5 separate regions of the Homo sapiens genome follow, and all the other regions are linked to region 5. Evidence: promoter capture Hi-C in human tissues and cell types (Jung and others, 2019). All regions are on one chromosome and are shown on one strand. The core of a region is centred on a gene start or on the middle of the fragment in contact, and the rest is flanking DNA. Distances in the headings are between cores, read along the strand shown.

Region 1 (4,464 bases), core at 1,965-4,464, 730 kb before region 5:
CAGCTTTTGTTGCCATTGCTTTTGGTGTTTTAGTCATGAAGTCCTTGCCCATGCCTATGTCCTGAATGGTATTGCCTAGGTTTTCTTCTAGGGTTTTTATGGTTTTAGGTCTAACATTTAAGTATTTAATCCATTTTGAATTTATTTTTGTACAAGGTGTAAGGAAGGGATCCAGTTTCAGCTTTCTACATATGGCTAGCCAGTTTTCCCAGCACCATTTATTAAATAGGGAATCCTTTCCCCATTGCTTGTTTTTGTCAGGTTTGTCAAAGATCAGATGATTGTAGATGTGTGGTATCATTTCTGAGGGCTCTGTTGTGTTCCATTGGTCTATATCTCTGTTTTGGTACCAGTACTGTGCTGTTTTGGTTACTGTAGCCTTGTAGTATAGTTTGAAGTCAGGTAGCGTGATGCCTCCAGCTTTGTTCTTTTGGCTTAGGATTGTCTTGGCAATGCAGCTCTTTTTTGGTTCCATATGAACTTTAAAGTAGTTTTTTCCAATTCTGTGAAGAAAGTCATTGGTAGCTTAATGGGGATGGCATTGAATCTATAAATTACCTTGGGCAGTATGGCCATTTTCACGATATTGATTCTTCCTATCCATGAGCATGGAATGTTCTTCCATTTGTTTGTGTCCTCTTTTATTTCGTTCAGCAGTGGTTTGTAGTTCTCCTTGAAGAGGTCCTTCACGTCCCTTGTAAGTTGGATTCCTAGGTATTTTATTCTATTTGAAGCAATTGTGAATGGGAGTTGACTCATGATTTGGCTCTCTGTTTGTCTGTTATTGGTGTTTAGGAATGCTTGTGATTTTTGCACTTGATTTTGTATCCTGAGATTTTGCTGAAGTTGCTTATCAGCTTAAGGAGATTTTGGGCTGAGACGATGGGGTTTTCTAAATATACAATGATGTCATGTGCAAATAGGGACAATTTGACTTCCTCTTTTCCTAATTGAATACCCTTTATTTCTTTCTCCTGCCTGATTGCCCTGGCCAGAACTTCCAACACTATGTGTAATAGGAGTGGTGAGAGAGGGCATCCCTCTCTTGTGCCAGTTTTCAAAGGGAATGGGAAGCAATTTTTGTCCCTTATGCAGCTTGTCCCTGCTACTCTGTCCTGTCTCCATTGGCTGGAGCCAGACCTCACAATATAAACTGAACCCGATTGGCTGACAATTTAAAACTTCTCTAAATAGGTGAAAGCAATGGAGAACAAGGGAAAGGAGGAAGTTGCTTACTAAAGGACTTAGAAAAGTAATAACATTCCCAAATAAGGAAGGGGCATAGGCTGCGAGCTGGGACATGTCTGTGAGCATGTCCAGCACAGATATCTTGGTTAAAGTACAAGGACATAGAATGTACTATGTGCCTGTGAGCATGTTTAATAACTACATAGGATAGGGCTTAACAAAGAGTTATTAGCACAAAGCAAGGAGGCTTGAAGGAAGTTAGTCTTTAAAAGGAACTATTACTTCTAACACTTATGATTTATTCTTTAACAAGGGAAACTTTGAGGAAGAAACTTTTTGCTTTCTACACAGGACACTCCTACGTCTGGGTCTGTTTAGTAAAGGTTATCAATCTGTTTCCTTAGCCACAAACATCTAGAGGCTAGGAATATCTAACTTTCGGGGAGGGCAGCCCAGCAAGTCCCAGCCTCATTTTTCCTAGTCCTCACCCAAGATGGAGTTGCTCTGGTTTGAATGCCTCTGACAACAATCCTAAATGTATTACTGTTGGCTGAATTGCTTTATCCTCTCTATTTTTCGTTTTAATTCCAGCCATCAACATTTGCCCATTTGCTAAGTTAGAAATTTGGAGGCAGCTTTGACTCTTCTGCCCATACTGAGTTAGCCATCGAGACCTGCCTCCTTTGCTTCCCTATTTCCCTGATACCTGCTTCCCTATTATTTTAGGTTTTTTTGTTTGCTTGTTTTAAGATAGGGTCTTGCTCTGTCACCCAGGCTGGAGTGCACTGGCACAATCTTGGCTCATTGCAACCTCTGCCTCCCAGGTTCAAGCAATTCTCCTGCCTCAGCCTTTGGATATCTGGGATTACAGGCACATGCCATGATGCCTGGCTATTTTTATTTTATTTTATTTTATTTTTTTAGTAGAGACAGAGTTTAGCCATGTTGGCCAGGCTGGTCTCAAACTCCTGACCTCAAGTGATCCGCTCACCTTGGCCACTGAAAGTGCTGGGATTACAGGTGTGGAGCCACCATGCCCGTGCGCCTACCCACATCGATACATAAAATTAACCATTGCACTGAGCAAATTGGTTAATCATCAATTTTTGAAAAGTATATTGAGCATTGAAGGCTCATCCAATTCTAGGCCAGGTTTCATGGAGAATCTATAATGCAAAGTCTTTATTCCTTCTTGTCTCCCCTCCCCACAAGGGTTTTTTCCTGGTTTATTTATTTATTTATTAGTGTTTCTTCCCTTATTTTTAGCAGATTCAATACTTTAGCGGTGGGAAGAGGTTCATCCTTAGGAGCTTCTAAACCATTACCCACCTACCCAGGCTGGGACGTCTAGAAAAAAAAAACAAAAAAACAAACGTGTCTGATGAAAATAGGAATATCTGTGTGTCATCTTCCCCGACTCAGATATCAATCACTTATTATTTCGTTTAAAAGCCAAAGAAACAAAAATACCCACTGATTTTGGAGCTCCTACATGTGCCAGTCACTATGCAGGATGCTGGGGATACAGTGATACGCAAAACAAAAAGTTGTTTATTGCTTGTTAAACAAAGCAAAGGCACTTTATGCACCAGCAGAGGAAATAGGAAAACCATAGTGGAAAAGACTCCCTAGCTTCTGAGATATTGATAAGAAGTTGGAGAGATGATTTGTTATAAAGGGATGTAAAGCCTCGTTTCAGTGGGAAACCATTCGTTCATCAGGGAGCCAGGTTTGCAGTGGGCACCTATGCGTCAGTTCTGATGTTCCCCGCCTACGATTGTTTGTCCATGTCCAGCAGATGGCGCCAAGTGACTGGCCGCGGCTGGGATGTACCGGGTCCTCTTTGGAAAACATGAAATCTATTTCTATAGGGCCAGCATCTTAAAGAAGGCACTCATATTGTCTGTTTGAGACCCTTTCTTTTGCTCCATTTTAATGTGATATGTGGATCAAAATAAGAAATAGACAATAAAATGGTTTCTCCTCCTGGAATGTGGTAATATTGTGGAATAACAGGAACACAGGTCTAACGTAGATAGCTGAGTAAAACAGCACCCAGACTTGCAGCCGGCACGGGGAACTCATGTGAGTGTGTGTATGTGTGTGCACGCGTATTTGTGCTTATGAGAAAGATTAAACAGTAAAGGATGGAAGTGATAACAAATGCTTTAACAAGGGTAAGGAGAAAGTATTGTAGAAAAATCTATAAAAGCTGAGGGAGTGGGAGAGGGGGAGGGGGAGGGAGAGTTAGTTCAAGTGAGCATGAGAGCTGGGACCTTGGATTAAAAGCATTAAAAGAACTCCAGAAGAAAAGATTTGATTCCGCCGGTTGTGGTGGCTCACGCCTGTAATCCCAGCACTTTGGGAGGTCGAGGTGGGCGGATCACCTGAAGTCGGGAGTTCGAGACCAGCCTGACCAATATGGAAAAACCCCGTCTCTACTACAAAAAAAAAAAAAAAAAAAAAAAAAAAAAAAAAAAAAATTAGCCGGGATATGGTGGTGCATGCCTGTAATCCCAGCTACTCGGGAGGCTGAGGCAGGAGAATTGCTTGAACCTGGGAGGCAGAGGTTGCAGTGAGCTGAGATCACGCCATTGCACTCCAGCCTGGGCAACAGGGGTGAAACTCTGTCTCAAAAAAAAAAAAAAAAAAAAATATATATATATATATATATATATATTTGATTCCTCTGTTTCTTGCAATCCTAGTAACAGGTGACTTGAATTTCAAGTGATTATCATATAAATGGAGGATTAGAAAAGAGACACCAACTCTGGAACCAGTTCAATGGAATTCTTCAAGAGACTGTAACTTAGTGCTTACAAAGACTTGGAATGATCTACACTGCATGGTGTACCTGTTAGAGGAGGTGACATCAAAGCTTTAGGTACTGAGAGAGGATACTTCCTACTGTGGAAGGGAAGAAAAGAAAAAAGCAAAGGTGAGTTGGAATGGTAGACCTGTTGGGTTTATTCTCTCATTGCTAAGCTTTTAAAATCTCTCATTTAAAAAAAATGTCTTGGGCAGGCCACCGTGGCTCATGCCTGTAATCCCAGCACCTAGGGAAGCTGGCATGGGAGGACTGCTTGAGCTCACGAGTTGGAGACCAGCCTAGGCAACATTGAGAAACCCTGTCTCTACAAAAAATTAGCCGAACGTGGTGGCAGGTGCTTGTAGTTGTAGCTGTAGCCTCCTAGCTACTCAGGAGGCTGAGGTGGGAGGATTGCTTGAGCCTAGGAGGGGGAGGTTGCAGTGAGCCAGCCTGGGTGACAGAGT
Region 2 (4,497 bases), core at 178-2,677, 620 kb before region 5:
CTTTGTGATTACCTTGAGGCTTACATAAAAGATACTGTAATGGGCTATTTATTTTAAGCTGTAAATAACTTAACCTTGATTGCATGATAATACTCCATACTTTTAATCCACCTCCCCATTTTGTGTTTTTGATGTCACAGTTTACATCTTGTATATCCCTTAAAAAATTATAGCTATTATTTTAAATAGTTTCATCTTTTAACCTTCATACTAAAGATAAATGTTACTTACATACCACCATTATAATATTAGACTGTTCTGAATTTGACTACTTACTTTTACAAATGAGTTTTATACTTTGATGTATTTTCCTGTTACCCATTAGCATCTTCTTTCAGCTTGAAGAACTCTCTTTAACCTTTCTTGTAAGACAGGTCTGTTGGTGATGAACTTACTAAGCTTTTGTTTGTTGGGAAAAGTCTTTCTCTCCATTTCTGAAGTACAGCCTTGCTAGGTACAGTGTTCTTGGTTGACAAGTTTTTTCCTGCAATACTTTGAATATATCATCCCACTTTTTCACGGCTTAGGTTTCTACTGAGAAATCTGCCACTAGCCTTATTGGAACTTCTTTATATATTGTTTTCCTGTTTTCTCTTGTTCCTTTTAGGATACTCTGTGTGTGTGTGTGTGTGTGTGTATGTGTGTGTGTTTGTATTTTCTTTTTTTTTTCTGAGGTGAAGTCTCGCTCTTTCACCCAGGCTGGAGTACAGTGGTGTGATCTTGGCTGCCTGCAAACTCTGCCTTCCAGCTTCAAATGATTCTCCTGCCTCAGCCTCCAGAGTAGCTGGGATTACAGGCACACGCCACCACACCTGGCTAATTTTTGTATTTTTAGTAGGGACTGGGTTTCACCATGTTGGTCAGGCTGGTCTCGAACTCCTGACCTTGTGATCTGCCCGCCTCGGCCTCCCAAAGCGCTGGGATTATAGGCATGAGCCACCATGCCCGACCTGTCTTTATACTTGACAGTGTGATGATAATATGTCTTGGGATAGTCTTGTTTGGATTGAATCTGATTAGAGAACTTTGACTTTCTTTTACCTGGATATTTGTGTCTTTCCCTAGAATTGGCATGTTTTCTGCTATTGTTTAAGCTTGCCTACCCCTTTGCCCCTATGTTTTTTTCCCTTAATTCCTGTAACTCAAGTATTTTTGTTCTTTTGATGTTGTCCCATAAATCCTGAAGCTTTCTTCATCCCTTTTCACTTTTTTCCTTTCTTTGCTGGCTGCATATTTTCAAATAACCTGTCTTTGAGTTCACAGACTTTTTTTCTCCTTGATCAATTTTGCTGTTGATATTTTCTATTGAACTTTTTATTAATTGTATTTTTCAGCTCCAGAATTTGATTTTTTAAAAATAATTGTAATATCTATTAAATTTCTAATGTTGATTATTTATTATTTTCCTGACTCATTGGGATATTTCTCTGATTTTTTGAGGTTCATTGAACATAAAATAATTATTTTGAATTCTTAGGCAGTTCACATATCTTAATTTCTTTGTGGTTAGTTACTGGGAGATTATAACACCACCAAAAGAATATGATATATTATTTGTTTCCTCATTACCTTATGCTGATGTCTGTTCATTTGGTGGAGAAGTCACCTCTTGGAGCTGTTCTGGGTTCATTTCACTATAGGAAGACCTATGCTGTTTATGGAATGGCACAAAAGTCAATACATTGCATATGGAACCAGCCTTTAAAAAGTCAAAACTGATTTATGGGAGAAGGTGGAGAGGGGCATGGTTTCACAGCTGCCTCACCCTGGGTAAATCGCTCAGCTTGTTCAACTCCTTAGAAAGCTGGAGGAAGCCCAGAAGATGAAGGGACTCCAGCAAAAGAGATCTGGAAGATGATACAGGCTGTTACCCTGGACAGTTCGTTTAAAATAGCTGGGTTTCCATTTCCACACCCTGCCTTCCTCCCAGGTTTGTTGAGGAGACCCAAAGAGATAAGATACGGGAAACTGTTTTGAACATTGTCAAGTGCTATACAAAGTAAGGTATGGTTAAACCTCTTCATTTTAGAACACGTTGGAATTTGAAGGCGCCCAATAAATACTGGTTTCCTCACCCACTTTCTGACTTAACTGAGTCAAAGATTTCCTTTCTTAACTGATGAAGATGATACAGTGTGGCTTGTATCTGTAGGCAAGAGGGATGATTCCCAACCTCAGGGTTAGATGGACTTAGGAGGCACAGGTCGCTTTGGAAAACCGTAGCCCATGTCTGGGGCGTGTCTGATGCTCTAAAATTTTCTGCTTCGATAAGAAGCAGACTGGACTGGGAACTCCCTGTGGCCAGCTGGCTCCCAAGAGGAAAAGGGGAGAGCTAGGCATGCTTTGTTCCTGTTTGCAAGTACAGGAATCAGAGTCCCTGCCTGTTCCCGGAGGGGTGTGAGGGTCTGGGGAGAAGCCAGGAGCATGCTTGTAATGCAAGACTCATTACACAAAAACTAGCAGGCTGGGGAAGGGAGATTCCTCCTATAGATAGTAGCGTAAATAGGCTGTGCTGAATTTAAAGCCCACAGCCCCTCAGTTTCTAGTTTCTCAACCTTGCTCATATAGTAATATGAGTAAGGCTGGTAACTGAGTACCATATAGTAATATGAGTAAGGCTGGTAACTGAGTACCATATAGTAATATGAGTAAGGCTGGTAACTGAGTAAGGTTGAGAAACGAGAAACTGAGTTTGTGGGCTTTGACTTCAGCACAGCCTATTTACGCTACTGCCAGGGGCTTATTGCCCACAGACGGTGATAGAGTGAGGCCCAGCCTTGGGAACATCTCGTGAAAGGCTTGCAAAGGGGACCTAAGAAAATGCCTGGGATGGTGGATTCACTCTGTGCTGGAGAAACTTAATGATTTGTGGTCATCAAAAATGAACTCCTTATTCACTTTCACAAGACTCAATGATTTATCATCCAATGTGAACTGTGTTCTGAATCCTATTCTCTACATACTTTGGTGCAGACACCTTCTCCATGTGCCATTTACAACGTGTGTATGTCACGAAGCCTTCTCTTTAGGGCTGAGCCAACTTGGCATTCTGTCTTGCATGATGTCTCCTTATAGACAGAAAATTCCAAACTGCCGGCATCCAAAAGTTAATGACTCATGATTACATGAGAAAAGAAGCATTAACAACGAATGACAAATTGTTTATACTTTGAATGTCATGGCTAATCACTTGGTTTTTAAAGATGTACTGTTACAGCAAAAAATTAGTGTTTAAGAAAAGATATATTTGCCTTTCTATGTGTCTTGTGACACTGTGAGTGACATCTCTCTTACGTACACTCAAAAATCTAACAATCATCGGGAGTAGGAATCGTAAATTTATATTGAACTCTAGTTGGTGAACTGAACCATAATTTTAGTTGTGGTGTGTATATGTGACTATGACAGTATAAGTACATATAATTTATAAAATATGTTTGGAAGTCCTTTGGGAGGGAGGAGGGAGAAGATTTTCCCTCTAATTTCCAAGGTTTAGTAACTGGGTCTATGAAATAAACTGACAACAGGCAGATTAACAGGATAAAAGATACACAAGTTTATTAAGTGCACAGGGACATCATAGGAAAAAAAGTCATACCCCTTAAAACAGTGAGATTTAGAAGGTTATATACCCTCTTTTTGGGGAAAGCAGGGAGGGGGGATGTAGGCAATTTAGGAGAGAGAAAATGATTTTGGGGAAAGATGAATAGACCCTCAGAATAAGTGATAGCTTGTGACAAACCTTGGGTGTGATGTCACCTCCATTCTCCTCTCCTGTGATAAGAGTTAATTTTCCCTGGTTGATGAAACTCCCAGGGGTGGGGGTACTGACGACAACTGAGCTCCTTTTGGAGGTTTTGTCTTTAGGCAGATAAAGGGAATTCAGAGAAAGCCACTGTCTGCATGTACTGTTTTTCAAGTTCCTCCAGCTCAAAGTAGTCTTTATGCCAAAGCAGCATATTTTGGGGTGGCCTGTCCTAAACTCCTACATACTACTTTAAATTATGTATAAACTTTACTCCCTAATGCCTGCATGTTCTTAATACATTTACCAGTGGTGTGACTGTAGGTGTCACTTGCCCTCTTTGTCTCTTTGTTCATCTGCAAAGTGGAGTCAATTACATTGTTAAGGATGCCTTTGGCTACAAGTAAGAGAAAACTGGACTCAATGAATTTCAAACAGTGAGGAAATGTATTATCACATGAGGCAAGAAAGCAAAGGTAGTGGTAGCTCCAGGCACGGGTTAATCAGGGATCTGGGTCCCCTCTTGGTGATTCTTTTGGCTCGGCATTCTCTCTTCGTGGTACTGTTGTTCTCAGGCTAGATTCCTTCATGGATGCAAAAAGGCTGCAGCACTTCCAGGCATAAACTACAGACCCAACAAGATCTGAAAGCGGGAGAGATTATTTTGGTGTGGCTTTTATAAAGAACAGAAAATGTCATTCTCTCTCTTTTTTTTTTTCTTTAAGATGGAGTTTTGCTCTTGTTGCCCAGGC
Region 3 (4,085 bases), core at 1,051-3,550, 540 kb before region 5:
TTCTTCCTATCTCTGAATAGATTTGGAGGATAAACCTTGCTGAGAAGCTGAGACCTGGATGATGCTTCTGGCTTCCTCTTTGGAGGACAGCTAGTGCTTAGCTTCTCATTCCAGTCTCTCTCGCAGTGGCTCATGCCTGTAATCCCAGCACTTTGGGAGGCCGAGGCTGGTGAATCACTTGAGGTCAGGAGTTTGAGACCAGCCTGGCCAACATGGAGAAACCCCATCTGTACTAAAAATACAAAAACTAGCTGGGTGTGGTAAAGCATGCCTGTAATCCCAGCTACTTGGGACGTTGAGGCATGAGAATCGCTTGAACCCGGGAGGCGGAGGTTGCAGTGAGCCGAGATTATGCCACTGCACTCCAGCCTGGGCAACAGAGACTCAGTCTTAAAAAAAACAAGAAGTTGGATACAGGCTGCATTCCCAGATCTCTCCAGTGTGTTGGGTTGGAACATAAAAATAGCCATCTCCCCTCCAGGGGACAGATCCCAATTAGAAATCTTAAATTCTTTCTCAATTTCATTTTCCATGGAAGACCAGATTTAAAACCAGGCAACTGGCAAAGAGCCACACAGTTTTCCAGCTTGCTGGCCATGACATCTCATGAGAACAACTCAAAACACTTAGAAAAATCTTTTGTTTCAGGAGCTTAGCAGGAGGCTGGAGTGGATCCATCCATCTCTGGCCCATGATCCTGCTAACAAGCTTGCATATGCCATGGTGCTCAGTGATGAATGCAAACGGTGCCCAGTGGCTGGCAGGGCTTGGAAATTTGCCATGTTGTTTGCCTCCACACTCCCTGATAATTGCTCCCTATGCCATCTTTAAAAACCCATTTCTGGCCTTGGGCTAAGGGCTTGATCTGGAATAAGGCTGCCTCAGCCCATGCTTGGAGCTTCAATTAATCCACTCTGAACCATGATATCTCAGAGATAGCTCATTAAGTTCTTCAACAGATATTTATTGAGCACCTAGGGTGTGCCAGGCACTGTGCTAGCTCTGGCTGACAAGGATCGCCACAACAGGCACACCTCCTTCCAACATAGAGTCAAACTCTCTCTCCAATGGTGGAGAGAGACAATGAACTTGAACTAGTACTAGTCATTATCATTACAAACGACTGCTTTCAGTGAAACCAACATTGTGCTGGCTGAAGAAATGCTGCCATGGGAGTGGAAGCTAAGGGAGAAGACCCATTTTAGATAGGATGGTCGAGAAAGTGCTTCTTAGAAAGTAGTCTTTTTGTTTTGTTTGTTTGTTTGCTTGCTTTTTGAGATGGAGTCTCACTCTGTCGCCAGGCCGGAGCGGGACGGTGCAATCTCAGCTCGCTGCAACCTCCGCCTCCCAGGTTCAAGTGATCCTCCTGCCTCAGCCTCCCAAGTAGCTGGGACTACAGGTGCACCCCACCACACCTGGCTAATTTTTGGGTTTTTTAAATTAATTAATTTATTTTTTTGAGATGGAGTCTTGCTCTGTTGCCCAGGCTGGAGTGCAATAGCACCATCTCAGCTCACTGTAACCTCTGCCTTCTGATTTCAAGTGATTCTCCTGCCTCAGCCTCCTGAGTAGCTGGGATTACAGGCACCTGCCACCATGCCCAGTTAATTTTTGTATTTTTAGTAGCGACGGGGTTTCACCATGTTGTCCAGGCTGGTCTCAAACTCCTGACCTCGTGATCTGCCCACCTCGGCCTCCCAAAGTGCTGGGATTACAGGTGTGAGCCACCGTGCCAGGCCAATTTTTTATATTTTTAGTAGAGACGGGGTTTCACCATGTTGGTCAGGATGGTCTCAATCTCTTGATCTCAAGTGATCCGCCTGCCTTGGCCTCCCAAAATGCTGGGATTACAGGCATGAGCCAGCATGCCCAGCCAGAAGGTAGTCTTTAAAATGAGAAGGACTGGCCAGGCGTGGTGGCTCATACCTGTAATCCCAGCACTTTGAGAGGCCATGGTGGGCAGATTGCTTGAGCCCAGGAGGTCAGGACCAGCCTGGGCAACATAGCAAGACCCTGATTATTCAAAAAATACAAAAATTAGCCAGGCATGGTGGCATGCACCACGTGACTCGGTCCCAGCTACTTGGGAGGCTGAGGCAGGGGAATCGCTTGAGTCCAGAAGGTCAAGACTGCAGTGAGTCATGATTGCCCCATTGTGCTTGAGCCTGGGTGACAGAGCTGGACCTTGTCTCCTTACAGGGAGCCTGCAAATATATATGATCCCTCAGGAAACGGACTACTCACTGGAGTGCAGTGACTGGCTATCGTGTCTCATGTCTACTGAGAACCATGAGGACCATCTCTGTGCTCGCCTCCCTTTCCTGCCCTCACACTTGAGCTCCCACTCCCTTGCCCCCACCCCTGTAGGCATCTAGGGAGAATGAAATATACTTTAGAAGGTGACAGGAGGAAGTGGTCATTCCTGCAGTGAATGCAAGGAGAGGTAACAACAAAACGCTGTACGTTGCTCTGGGCATTTCCTTACATCTTTAGCCTTGACCTTGCCTCTGAGCTCCAGATTCATATCCAGTTGCAGACCTGCCATCTCCACATGGTTGTCTAACAGGCATGTCTAATTTAGCAAGTCAAAACCAGAGCTCCAGGCTTCCTGCTTCACACTTCCTTCCCTCGGCAGAGGGCACCAACATCTACCCAGCTGCAGAAGTTAAAATCACTCAGAGCCATTCTTGAGTCTTTACTTTCTCATTCCCCTCCCTCAATACAGCAGCCTGCCCTGTTGACCCAATCGCCAGCGTGTATCCAGAGTCCACGCGCTTTGCTCCTTCTCTAAGACCACCAGCCTGGTCCAAGCCCCCGGTGCCTGTGCTAGTGTCATGACATCCTACAAATTTGCTGGCTTCCACCGTTGTCCCCACCATGAATAATTTTCCACAACATAGCCTTTGATCCAGGCTCGCCACAAACCCACTTTGAGCTATTCTTCCTGTTCCTTAACCCTCAGCCTGGCTCACTCCTCTCCAGTCATACCGGACTTTCTATTCCTTGACTGCCCAAGCTCATTCCAGCCTTTGCACTTCTTATTCCTTCTGCCTGGAGACCCATTCCTTCAGATCGTTGCACGATCTCCTCTTCCTTCTTTAAAACTTGGTTCAGACACCCCTGAAGGTTCAGGAAGCCTTTCCCTGTGCATTCTCTCCAATATATTCCCTAGGTAATGACATTACTTTGTTTAATTTCATTCATAGCATGTATTTCTACCTGCACTTGTTGTTTTACTTGTCTATGGCCTTTCCTCTCCTTTTTTAGAAAATTAGTTCCATGGAATACTATGCAGCCATAAAAAGAACTATATCATGTCCTTTGCAGGAACATGGGTGCAGCTGGAGGCCATTATCTTTAGCAAACTAACACAGAAACAGAAAACCCAATACTGCATATTCTCACTTATAAGTAGAAGCTAAATAATGAAAACACATGGATACACAGAGGGGAACAATAGGGACAGGGGCCTACCAAAGGGTGGAAGTAGGAGGAGGGAGAGAAATAGAAAAAATAACTATTGGGTACAAGGCTTAGTACCTGGGGGATGAAATAATATGTTCAACAAACCCTTGTGGCAAGAGTTTACCAATATAACAAACCTACACATGTACCCCTGAACCTAAAATAAAAGTTGTTTTTTTTAAAAGAAAAAAAAAAGCTAATAAATCCCTTCTTTAGAAAAAAGAAAATTAGTTCCATGGGCACAGAGTCCCTGTCTGTTTTATGTATATACATACAAACGTGTGTGTGTGTGTGTGTGTGTGTGTGTGTGTGTGTGTGTTAATAGAGACAGGGTCTCACTTTGTTGCCCAGGCTGGTCTCGAACTCCTAGCCTCAAGCAATTCCTCCACCTTGGCCTCCTGTCCCCCTTCTGTTTGGTTTCCTGCTCTACTTCCCAGAATGGTGCATCTGCCCTGCCTACCAACAACAGTGCCTGACTCACAGAATGTGCTCATTATATGCTTGTTGGATGAATGCATACATGAATAAAAGACAGTATGAAATACTTTCATAACAGTCTTAAAATATATATTGAGAAAACATTACTACCATTTAAGAGATGAAGAACTGAAGGCTGAGAG
Region 4 (4,474 bases), core at 186-2,685, 510 kb before region 5:
AGAGAAAGTAGGCCTAGGGCATTTAAAAGTATCTGAGCCGGCCGGGCACTGTGACTCATGTCTGTAATCCCAGCACTTTGGGAGGCTGAGTTGGGCAGATCATGACGTCAGGAGTTTGAGACCAGCCTGACCAACATGGTGAAACCCTGTCTCTACTAAAAATAGAAAAATGAGCCAGGCGTGGTGGCACGTGCCTGTAATCCCAGCTACTCAGGAGGCTGAGGCAGGAGACTCACTTGAACCCAGCAGGCGGAGGTTGCAGTGAGCTGAGATTGCGCCATTGCACTCCAGCCTTGGTGACAAAGCAATACTCTGTCTCAATAAATGAATGAATGAATCTGAGCCAGGACAAAGAGTGGAGCACAGGACTCCATGCATAATCCAAGCCGAATATCCCCTCTTCTCCGTGACCCTTTGAGTCTCAGAGAAATGGAGGAATCTCTACACTTCATCTTAAAATTGTAACTCTAGATCAGAGAAACAAAGTGGTTCCAGAGAAGGTGAAATGGGGCCAAGCAAAAAATCATACACACAAGATCAAAATAAACCTAGAGTCTGTACAATTGTACCCACATTAACCATAGACCATATTTTTTGTTCAGGAAAGGGATAAAAAGAAATAGAGGGAAATGTATAACAGCAGACTTATATTAGAATATCTGGAATATAAAAAGAACTCTGAAAAACCAATAAGAAAAATACAGTAAAAAATTCAGCAAAACTTGAACAAGTACTTTACACAAGAAAAAATTCAAATGAGCCAAACAACATAAGGAAAGGTGCTCAACCTCATCAGAAATTAGGAAAATGCGGCCGGGCACGGTGGCTCACGCCTGTAATCCCAGCACTTTGGGAGGTCGAGGCGGGCAGATCACCTGAGGTCAGGAGTTTGAGACCAGCCTGGCCAACATGGTGAAACCCCCGTCTCTACTAAAAATACAAAACTTAGCTGGGTGTGGTAACGCACGCCTGTAATCCCAGCTACTCGGGAGGCTGAGGCAGGAGAATCGCTTGAACCTGAGAGGTGGAGGTTGCAGTGAGCCAAGATCATGCCACTGTACTCTGGCCTGGGAGACAGAGGGAGACTCCATCTCAAAAAAAAAAAAAAAATTAGGAAAATGCATCTTAAAGCCATAATCATATCTAAGTATACAACCATTTGTTTGGCACAAGTTTGAAACTCCAGCAATATCATGGGTTTAATAGGAATAACAGGAGTAATAAGAATTCGCAAACAAAACCAGGATTCTATGTAAATTGGTACCAACACTTTGGAAAATTCTTTGACATTATCAACTAAAATTGAACACGGCATACCATATAACCTAACAATTTCACTTCTGTGCTATATTCTCTCCTCTAAAAATGTGAGCACACGTTTACCAGTATACATGGAAGAGAATATTCAGAGTCAAAAACTGGAAACAAACCAAATGCCCATTTACTGTAGGATGGATAAATACATTATTGTATATTCAATGGCATGCTGGCAGATGTTTAACAACAGGGAGAAAAAGCCCCGATTTGTAGCATTTGCTAATTTCCATGGTGCAAATATACTCATCATGGCTAATTTCAAGCTCCCAACATGACATTAACTAGCTTACAAAATTTGTGAACATTTAACAATCAATGCTCATGAGTCTGTATAAGCTGCCTCCAGCACATCCCTGAGGATATTTTTATGTTGTAATACTGTGTAGCAATAAAAATGAATGAGCTAGGCCAGGCGCAGCAGCTCATACCTGTAATCCCAGCACTTTGAGAGATCAAGGCAGGCAGATCACTTGAGCCCAAGAGTTGAAGACCAACCTGGGCAACATGGCAAAATCCCATCTCTACAAAAGATACAAAAACATTAGCTGTATGTGGTGGCATGTGCCTGTAGTCCCAGTTATTTGGGAGGCTGAGGCAGGAGGACTGCTTGAGCTGAGGAGGCCGAGGCCACAGTGAACCATGATTGTGTCACTGAACTCCAACCTGGGCAACAGAGTTAGACCCTGTCTCAAAACAAAAAAAGAAAAAAAAAATGAACTATAGCTAGATGCAACAGCATGGATAAATCTTACAAATATAATGTTGAGCAAAATAAAACACAAAAGAGGCTGGGTGCAGTGGCTCATGCCTATAATCTCAGCACTTTGGAAGGCCAAGGTGGGTACATTGCTTGAGCTCAGGAGTTTGAAACTAGTCTGGGCAACATGGTGAAACTCCATCTCCACTAAAAATACAAAAATTAGCCAGATATGGTGGTGCATGCCTGTGGTCCCAGCTACTGGGGAGGCTGAGGTGGGAGGATGGCTTGAGCCCAGGAGGAAGAGGTTGCAGTGAGCCAAGGTCATGCCACTGTACTCTAACCTGGGTGACACAGTGAGATCTTGTCTCAAAAAAAAAAAAAATCGCCAAAAAGAATACTTATACTTAGAGTATGATTTCTTTTTTTTTTTTTTTTTTGAGATGGAGTTTTGCTCTTGTTGCCCAGGCTGGAGTGCAATGGCACAATCTCGGCTCACTGCAACCTCTGCCTGCCAGATTCAAGCGATTCTCCTGACTCAGCCTCCTGAGTAGCTGAGATTACAGGCATCCACCACCACATCCAGCTAATTTTTCTATTTTTAGTAGCAACGGGGTTTCACCATATTGACCAGGCTGGTCTAGAACTCCTGCCCTCAGGTGATCCACCCGCCTCGGCCTCCCAAAGTGCTGGGATTACAGGTGTGAGCCAACACGCCTGGCCAATTTCATTTATATAAAGTTCAAGACAGGTGAAATTAAATCAGAACATTTAGGGATGCACACTTATGTGATAAAAAAGAAAAAAAGGTGTAAAAACAATAGCAGAAAAGTGACAAAAGTGGCTAACTAACAGGGAAGAAGATTATAAGGGGCATGCGGTGGACTGCTGGGGTGCAGGTGATGCTCTGTTTCTTGACTTTGGTGGAGTAACATGGGTGTTCTCTTTTACATATTTGTTAGACCTCACACATAGACTGCATGCATCTTTTCGTGTGTGGCTAAAATCCATGGTGTCCTGAATCCTGCTCTTCCTGGCTCATACCAACTTGTGAGAATCAACCATGCACGTCTCCTCCCAACTCTGCATTTAGTTACACTACTTTGTCGCTTGAAATCAGCCACAGTGGGAGGATTTACACCACAGAAATTGGCAAACACAACAAATCAGGACTTTCTGTTTTTTCTTTTTTCTTTCTGGAGAGTGGGTCTAACAACACATCACTGGTTAAATTTAACAACATATTTTTTAAAAATATGACTCACAAAATTGGCTTATTGAAGCAGATATGTTTTCACAGCTTCATGCTGTCAACAATTTTAAGGGAAAACTGTATCTTAAAAACACTAAACATGACAAGATCCCTGCAATGAAAAAGTCTTGACAGTTGAGAAGGAGAATTGGTCGTGAGAAATCTGAAGGGTCTGACATTCTTCGTTGTTCGATGTGTAATAAAAAATCATTACCTTGTTGGTAAAATTAAGGATGCTATCTAGTCACTTTTCTCATAGCAAATGTTCTTGGTGAATACTTTGCAAGATGATAAAAGAGATAGTGGATGAGAAGTTTCTCAGTCTACCGTTCAACTCAACTGCCTCCGTATATTTCCAACCAAGGTGGCCCCAAATGTTATTCTGTAGCAACTCTGGCAGTATTCTGGTCAGCTTTCCTTAGTAATTACCTGTAATAACTTGTGAAGCAGTGAAAAAATTACTTGTTATGTATATAAATCTACTTATTTATGTGAGTCTACATTCTCAAAATTTGGCGACCTTAAGCCAGGGTTATATGATGTCAATCTTTGTTCATTTCAGCTTTCCTGATGGTAAATAATTTAAAACCCTATATTAAAATTTTAAAAAGTAATTAGTTTCCAAGGTGAACCATCATCCTGCAGGGAAAGGTGGGGCTGGTACATGCCTTCTTCAGATCCTGCCTTCAGACGCTGAGGGAGTGCATAGCCCACTCCCTTACGGGTTTTTTTTGGCGGCGGGGGTGGGTTATTTATTTATTTATTTTTAATTTTTTTTATTATACTTTAAGTTCTAGGGTACATATGTACAACATGCAGATTTATTACGTAGGTATACATGTGCCATGTTGGTGTGCTGCACCCATTAACTCGTCATTTACATTAGGTATTTCTCCTAATGCTTTCCCTCCCCCTGCCCCCAACCCCACGACAGGCCCCAGTGTGTGATGCTCCCCACCCTGTGTCCAAGTGTTCTCATTGTTCAATTCCCACCTATGAGTGAGAACATGTGGTGTTTGGTTTTCTGTCCTTGTGATAGTTTGCTCAGAATGATGGTTTCGAGCTTCACCCATGTCCCTACAAAGGACATGAACTCATCCTTTTTTATGGCTGCATAGTATTCCATGGTATATATCTGCCACATTTTCTTAATCTAGTCTATCATTGATGGACATCTGGGTTGGTTCCAAGTCTTTGCTATTGTGAAT
Region 5 (4,732 bases), core at 470-2,969:
ATAGCAAATAGGTGCCCTCCCTGAAAGGCAACAACCACAGCAGGGAGACCCCACTCTAGTCCTCAGCGTGCGCCTTCCCGGGAATCAGAAGCAGGACTGGGAAAGCCACCCTCACAACTTCTCTCCGGGGGACCCCCTGCAGATCTGCGTGGGGGTGAGGGGAAATGACTGAACAGCAGCAGACGCCGAGCCTGGAGGTGAAGACAAGCTGGGTAATGTGGTGCTGGAAAAAAGAAACCAAGCACAAAAACAAGCACACGGAAAAAAAGGAGGAAGGAAAGAAAGGGCACCCAACAACGCACTGATTTATCCCATGAAATAGCTCCCCTTTCTCTTCCCAGCCTAATCAACACCTCCATGAACCCCTGCAAAATGGGCATTTCTGACTGCACACCTGTGCGTGAATCCACACTGACAGATACTGATGCAGAGCAAATACTGATTGTGTGAGGGAAGGAAATAACTTGAACTTCAGACTCATTCGGCAGGTCCTGATTCTCTTTCACTATCAGCCTCCCCACCTATTCTGAGCCGCTCCGAAACAAAACAAACAAGACCCAACTCCTGGGCAGAAAGGGAACAGCAGCTGAGCTGAGCAGCACATGCTTGGAGCGTTCCTGCCATCGACTTCGGATTATTTCTGCTTTCTTGAGACACAGCCATCAGCATGGGACTCGATGCAGCCCGGAGAGAGCACCGCCCGCGCAGCGACGCGCACAGACCCTCCCTTGGAGACGCGCTCCCCGGCGCGTGCGGCCGAGCCCGCGTGAAATGCACAGACCCTCCGGTGAGGCTCTGCCCACGTGTGACCCTGAGCACTGCGAAGCCCTTCCCTTCCATCCTCGCGTGGCCACCCAAAGTCTTGCCTACACCTCGTACGTGCAGATGCCAATTCCATAGAAATACATGATGTAAGGACAGAAATGGGAACGACTGGAGGCTGATCTTCTCGTGACCACGTCTCGCCAACGCGGTGCGCCCATGCACACGGCGAGTAAACGCACACAGCCGGTAAACAGCCATCCCCACCATGCTCAGCCCACAGTCACGCGTGGGGAGAAGGCAGCGGAGAGGGCGGCGGTGGCAGGAGAAGTGGGAAGTCGCGCGCCCGCGTGGGCTGCTCCCTGACAGCCCGGCGCTGCCCCCTCCCCCTCCCGGGAACGGCGCCCACCCGGGGGTCGCAGGCCCACGCGTCGGGCGCGCTCGGGGGGGCTCCGCAGCGCCGAGAACGGGACAATGAGGACGCGGTGACAGGCTGGGTTTCTGCCGCGGTAGTGGCGGCGGCGGCAGCTGGAGCTGCCCGTGCAGCCCCTGCCGCGGCCACCTCCACCCTCGCCTCCCCGGTCCCCACTTACGTTCCGAGGGTCTCTTTGAACTCGAAGATCTTCTTGATGTCTTCAGCTTGCTTTTTCCAGGAGGAGCTGCTCTCGCCGTTCTCCCGGGCCATGGCCGACGAGCGCGGCGCGGAGGAGCGGCCGGGGGCGCGCTGGGGAGGGGGCGCCGGGGGCGCGGCGCGGGCGCAGAGGCGGCGGGGATGCCGGGCGGCTCGGGCTGCGGCGCAGCTTCCTCCTCTGCAGTTTCCTCTTTCGCTCTCGCCGCCGCCGCCGCGGCCGCGGTCCCTCCCTGGCTCTTATTTCTGCTGTTCTCGGGCACAGACTTCCTGCCGCCGCCGCGCGCCGGCTCCTTTGCCGCCGCCTGCCAGCCTCACTTTCTGCTACTTTCTTGCCTCCCTCCCGCTCCCTCCCTGCCGCCCGCCGCGCTCCCCCCCACCTCGCGCCTCCTCCCCCTCCTCCCCCTCCTCCCCCTCCCGCGGGCTCCCCGCCCTCTCCGTGCGCCCCGGCCGCTCCCCGCCTCCAGCGCGCCGCCTTCGGGGATGTCCCGCTCCCCTCCCAAGAGCGCCGGGCCACGGCCGTCGTGCCCCCTGGAGCCCCGGCGAGGGCGGGTACGGGCCCCCGGCAGGTGCGGGGCGCACGCGGGAGAGCCCCAGCCCCTCCGGGAGCTGGAAACGGAGCCCAGTCTGGGGGCGCCGGGGCTTTCCCGTCTCCGGCGGGAGGGGGCGCCTCTGCGTGGCTCGGAAGCGCCGGGCGGGCGGGGGTGCGCGGCGGCCGGATGCGGGGCGCCGAGGGCGGGGCGCCTTCCCGCGCTGTGGCCTGTGGCCCGGGGGACCCGAGGGGCAAGGCGTGGGGTGGGGGGGGTGGGGGCCGGTTGTTATGGCGACGGGCGGCGGCGGCGGCTGGGATGGAGGCGGAGGCGGGCGGGAGCTCATTCGCATTGCACCAAATCGGTTTCACGTCAGTTTCGGGACAGACCCGCGAGGAGCAAGCCGGGGAGCCTCTGGGCGGGTACGCGCAGGACGCGCCAGCAGCTGCCTCGTGGTCCCTTTGCGAGCAAAACTCCCGGGGGTGTTTGGCAGCCGCGCGGGCGCCCTGGTGCTGGGCTGGAGCGGCCGGCGGGCCTGGCCGGCCTGGTTGCCCTGGCTCACGCTTGGCCCCTTCTGGCATCTCCCTGTCTCCTCCCAGAGACTCAGTGGAAAGAAGTGATCGTCTGCCCCGCAGTCCCCTCGAAGGAGGAGCCCACCCGCGGCTGGCTTAGTAGGGTGTCCGGGTTGCGGGGCAGGCACCTGCTTTCCTATGGACTGCCAAAACTAACCCAGAGAATTCCCTCCGGACTCCCATCTCCCAGCTGTACTTTGGCCTGCCCGCCCCACTCCTGGTGTCCACCTGTCAGAGGGCAGCCCACGTGCTCCAGTTCCCTGGTCCCCAACCTGCAGGGGCGACCTCTTGATCGGAAAATTTTAGATTTCTTGGTATCAACACTTCGCCTCCCTCAGGGCCTCTCCTCGTAGTTGGGTAAACAGCTCTGTCTCTTGACTGGGGACACCTGTCCCATTTTCCCAGGACTGTTCCAATTTCACTGTAAAAGGAAAAAAAAAATCTGCTCCCTGAATAGGAAACTTCATCCAGCACCTTGTGCCTAGTTCTGACTCTGGCTGAAGTGGAGGCAGCCCAGCTGCTCTCCCTCAGCCCCTACTCTGACCCTAAAGAGGTCAGACGACACCCTGGCATCCCCATTCCTGGGACCTCCATGCTAGTTTCCATCTTTCAAAGACGGTTAGCTTAAGGTTTTCCAAACTGAGAAGAGCAAAGAGGGGATTTACTTGCCGGTTAGATGTAGAATAAATCCACAAACCCAATTTCCAACACGGATGGGTGAGAAGAATTACTAAGGAACCTCTCTTATACTTGAGGCACATTACCAAAGTTCAAGGCAAACAGCATCCCCTTCAATAAGAAACATTTGAAAAACTATCATGTATTTTACTTGTGCCAAAGGTTAGATAATACAAACAGTGGGAACCAGGGCATAAGTCAACTAAGATCCCAACTGTCGCTTTCTCATGCCTACAGTCAGCATCTTCTTGTCCTTTCTTTCTCCTTCCCTTCCTCCCACTGTGTTTCCTTCTCCTCTTTTCCTATTTGGTTCTCTGCTATGTTGCCCTTGCTGCCTGGCCTCAGGAACAGCCGCCAGAGCTCATGAAAACAATTCTCATTCTCAGCTATTATCCCCACAGCTGAAGAAGTGCTGATTCTCTACTACCCGGCCATAAAAAAGAATGAAATCATGTCTTTTGCAGCAACGCAGTTGGAACTGAAGGCCATTATCTTAGGTGAAATAACTCAGAAACAGAAAGTCAAATACCACATGTTCTCACTTAGAAGTGAGAGCTAAGGCTAGGCATGGTGGCTCACGCCTGTAATCCCAGCACTTTGGGAGGCCTAGGCCAGTGGATCACCTGAGGTCAGGAGTTCAAGACCAGCCTGGCCAACATGGTGAAACTCTATTAAAAATAAAAATTAGCCAGGCATGGTGGCACATGCCTGTAATCCCAGCTACTCAGGAGGCTGAGGCAGGAGAATCACTGTAACCTAGGAGGTTGCAGTGAGCGAAGATTGCACCATTGCACTCCAGCCTGGCGACAGAGCAAGACTCCATCTCAAAAAAAAAAAAAGGAGAAGAAGTGGGAGCTAAATAATGTGTATATGTGGACAGAGAGTGTGGAATAATGACATTGGAGTGGGGTAGGGGAAGGGATGAGAAATTAACTAATGGGCATGGTGTACCCTATTCTGGTGATGGTTAAGCTAAAAGCCCAGACCTCACCACTACGCAATATATCCATGTAACAAAACTGCACTTGTACCCCTAAATCTATAAAAATAACCATTAGAAAAAAAGAAAGAAGGCAATTTTACAGGAACAGTAAAGATGAAGGGAAAGCAAATGAGAACTTCCACGTGGCCTGTGGCCGTGACTTTTCCTACCAGGCTATAAGCTCCATGAGAGCAAGGCACCTGTTAACTTTCTCGCCACTGTTTCCCAGCACCTGACACGGTAACCTACCCATACTGACTGATCTGTAAATGTGTGTCGAATGGATAAAGAAATGAAATTGAGGCCAGGCGTGGCAGCTCACGCCTGTAAAATGCCAGCACTTTAAGAGGCAGAGGCAGGCGGATCACCTAAGATCAGGAGTATGAGACCAGCCCGGCCAACATGGTGAAACCCTGTCTCTGCTAAAACTACAAAAATTAGCCGGGCGTGGTGGTGTGCGCCTGTATCCCAGCTACTCAGGAGGCTGAGGCAGGAGAATCACTTGAACCCAGGAGGCAGAGGTTGCAGTGAGCCGAGATCATGCCACTGCACTCCAGCCTGGTCAACAGAGTGATATTCT

Evidence for each region. The method cuts DNA at HindIII sites, captures the fragments that hold promoters and counts their contacts. A contact is called where the count stands out against the background at its distance.
Region 1: a contact is called between a fragment that was not itself captured here and the fragment with the promoter of CAMK1D in region 5, in 2 of the 25 tissues and cell types used here (bladder and mesenchymal stem cells).
Region 2: a fragment that was not itself captured here is called in contact with the fragment with the promoter of CAMK1D in region 5 in 2 of the 25 tissues and cell types used here (dorsolateral prefrontal cortex and mesenchymal stem cells).
Region 3: a fragment that was not itself captured here is called in contact with the fragment with the promoter of CAMK1D in region 5 in 1 of the 25 tissues and cell types used here (hippocampus).
Region 4: a contact is called between a fragment that was not itself captured here and the fragment with the promoter of CAMK1D in region 5, in 1 of the 25 tissues and cell types used here (aorta).

The regions. Positions count from the first base shown.
Region 1 is chr10:13,073,533-13,077,996 of GRCh38, reverse strand. It overlaps a transcript of CCDC3 not described here. Among named protein-coding and RNA genes, the nearest start is that of OPTN, 24 kb to the left of the region's middle. The HindIII fragment of the contact is 7,650 bases long and covers 1-4,464 here.
Region 2 is chr10:12,964,343-12,968,839 of GRCh38, reverse strand. The region is part of intron 2 of CCDC3 (coiled-coil domain containing 3); the gene reads left to right. Among named protein-coding and RNA genes, the nearest start is that of CCDC3, 35 kb to the left of the region's middle. The HindIII fragment of the contact is 3,130 bases long and covers 1-2,992 here.
Region 3 is chr10:12,883,116-12,887,200 of GRCh38, reverse strand. No RefSeq gene overlaps it. Among named protein-coding and RNA genes, the nearest start is that of CCDC3, 120 kb to the left of the region's middle. The HindIII fragment of the contact is 4,978 bases long and covers 1-4,085 here.
Region 4 is chr10:12,861,313-12,865,786 of GRCh38, reverse strand. No RefSeq gene overlaps it. Among named protein-coding and RNA genes, the nearest start is that of CCDC3, 140 kb to the left of the region's middle. The HindIII fragment of the contact is 3,351 bases long and covers 1-3,110 here.
Region 5 is chr10:12,346,534-12,351,265 of GRCh38, reverse strand. CAMK1D (calcium/calmodulin dependent protein kinase ID) reads right to left here and starts at 1,719. Exons shown (of 11, transcript NM_153498.4): 1 at 1,356-1,719. The coding sequence starts at 1,447. RefSeq lists enhancers at 571-730, 905-1,404 and silencers at 1,441-1,530, 1,701-2,260, 2,301-2,560. The HindIII fragment of the contact is 17,086 bases long and covers 1-4,732 here.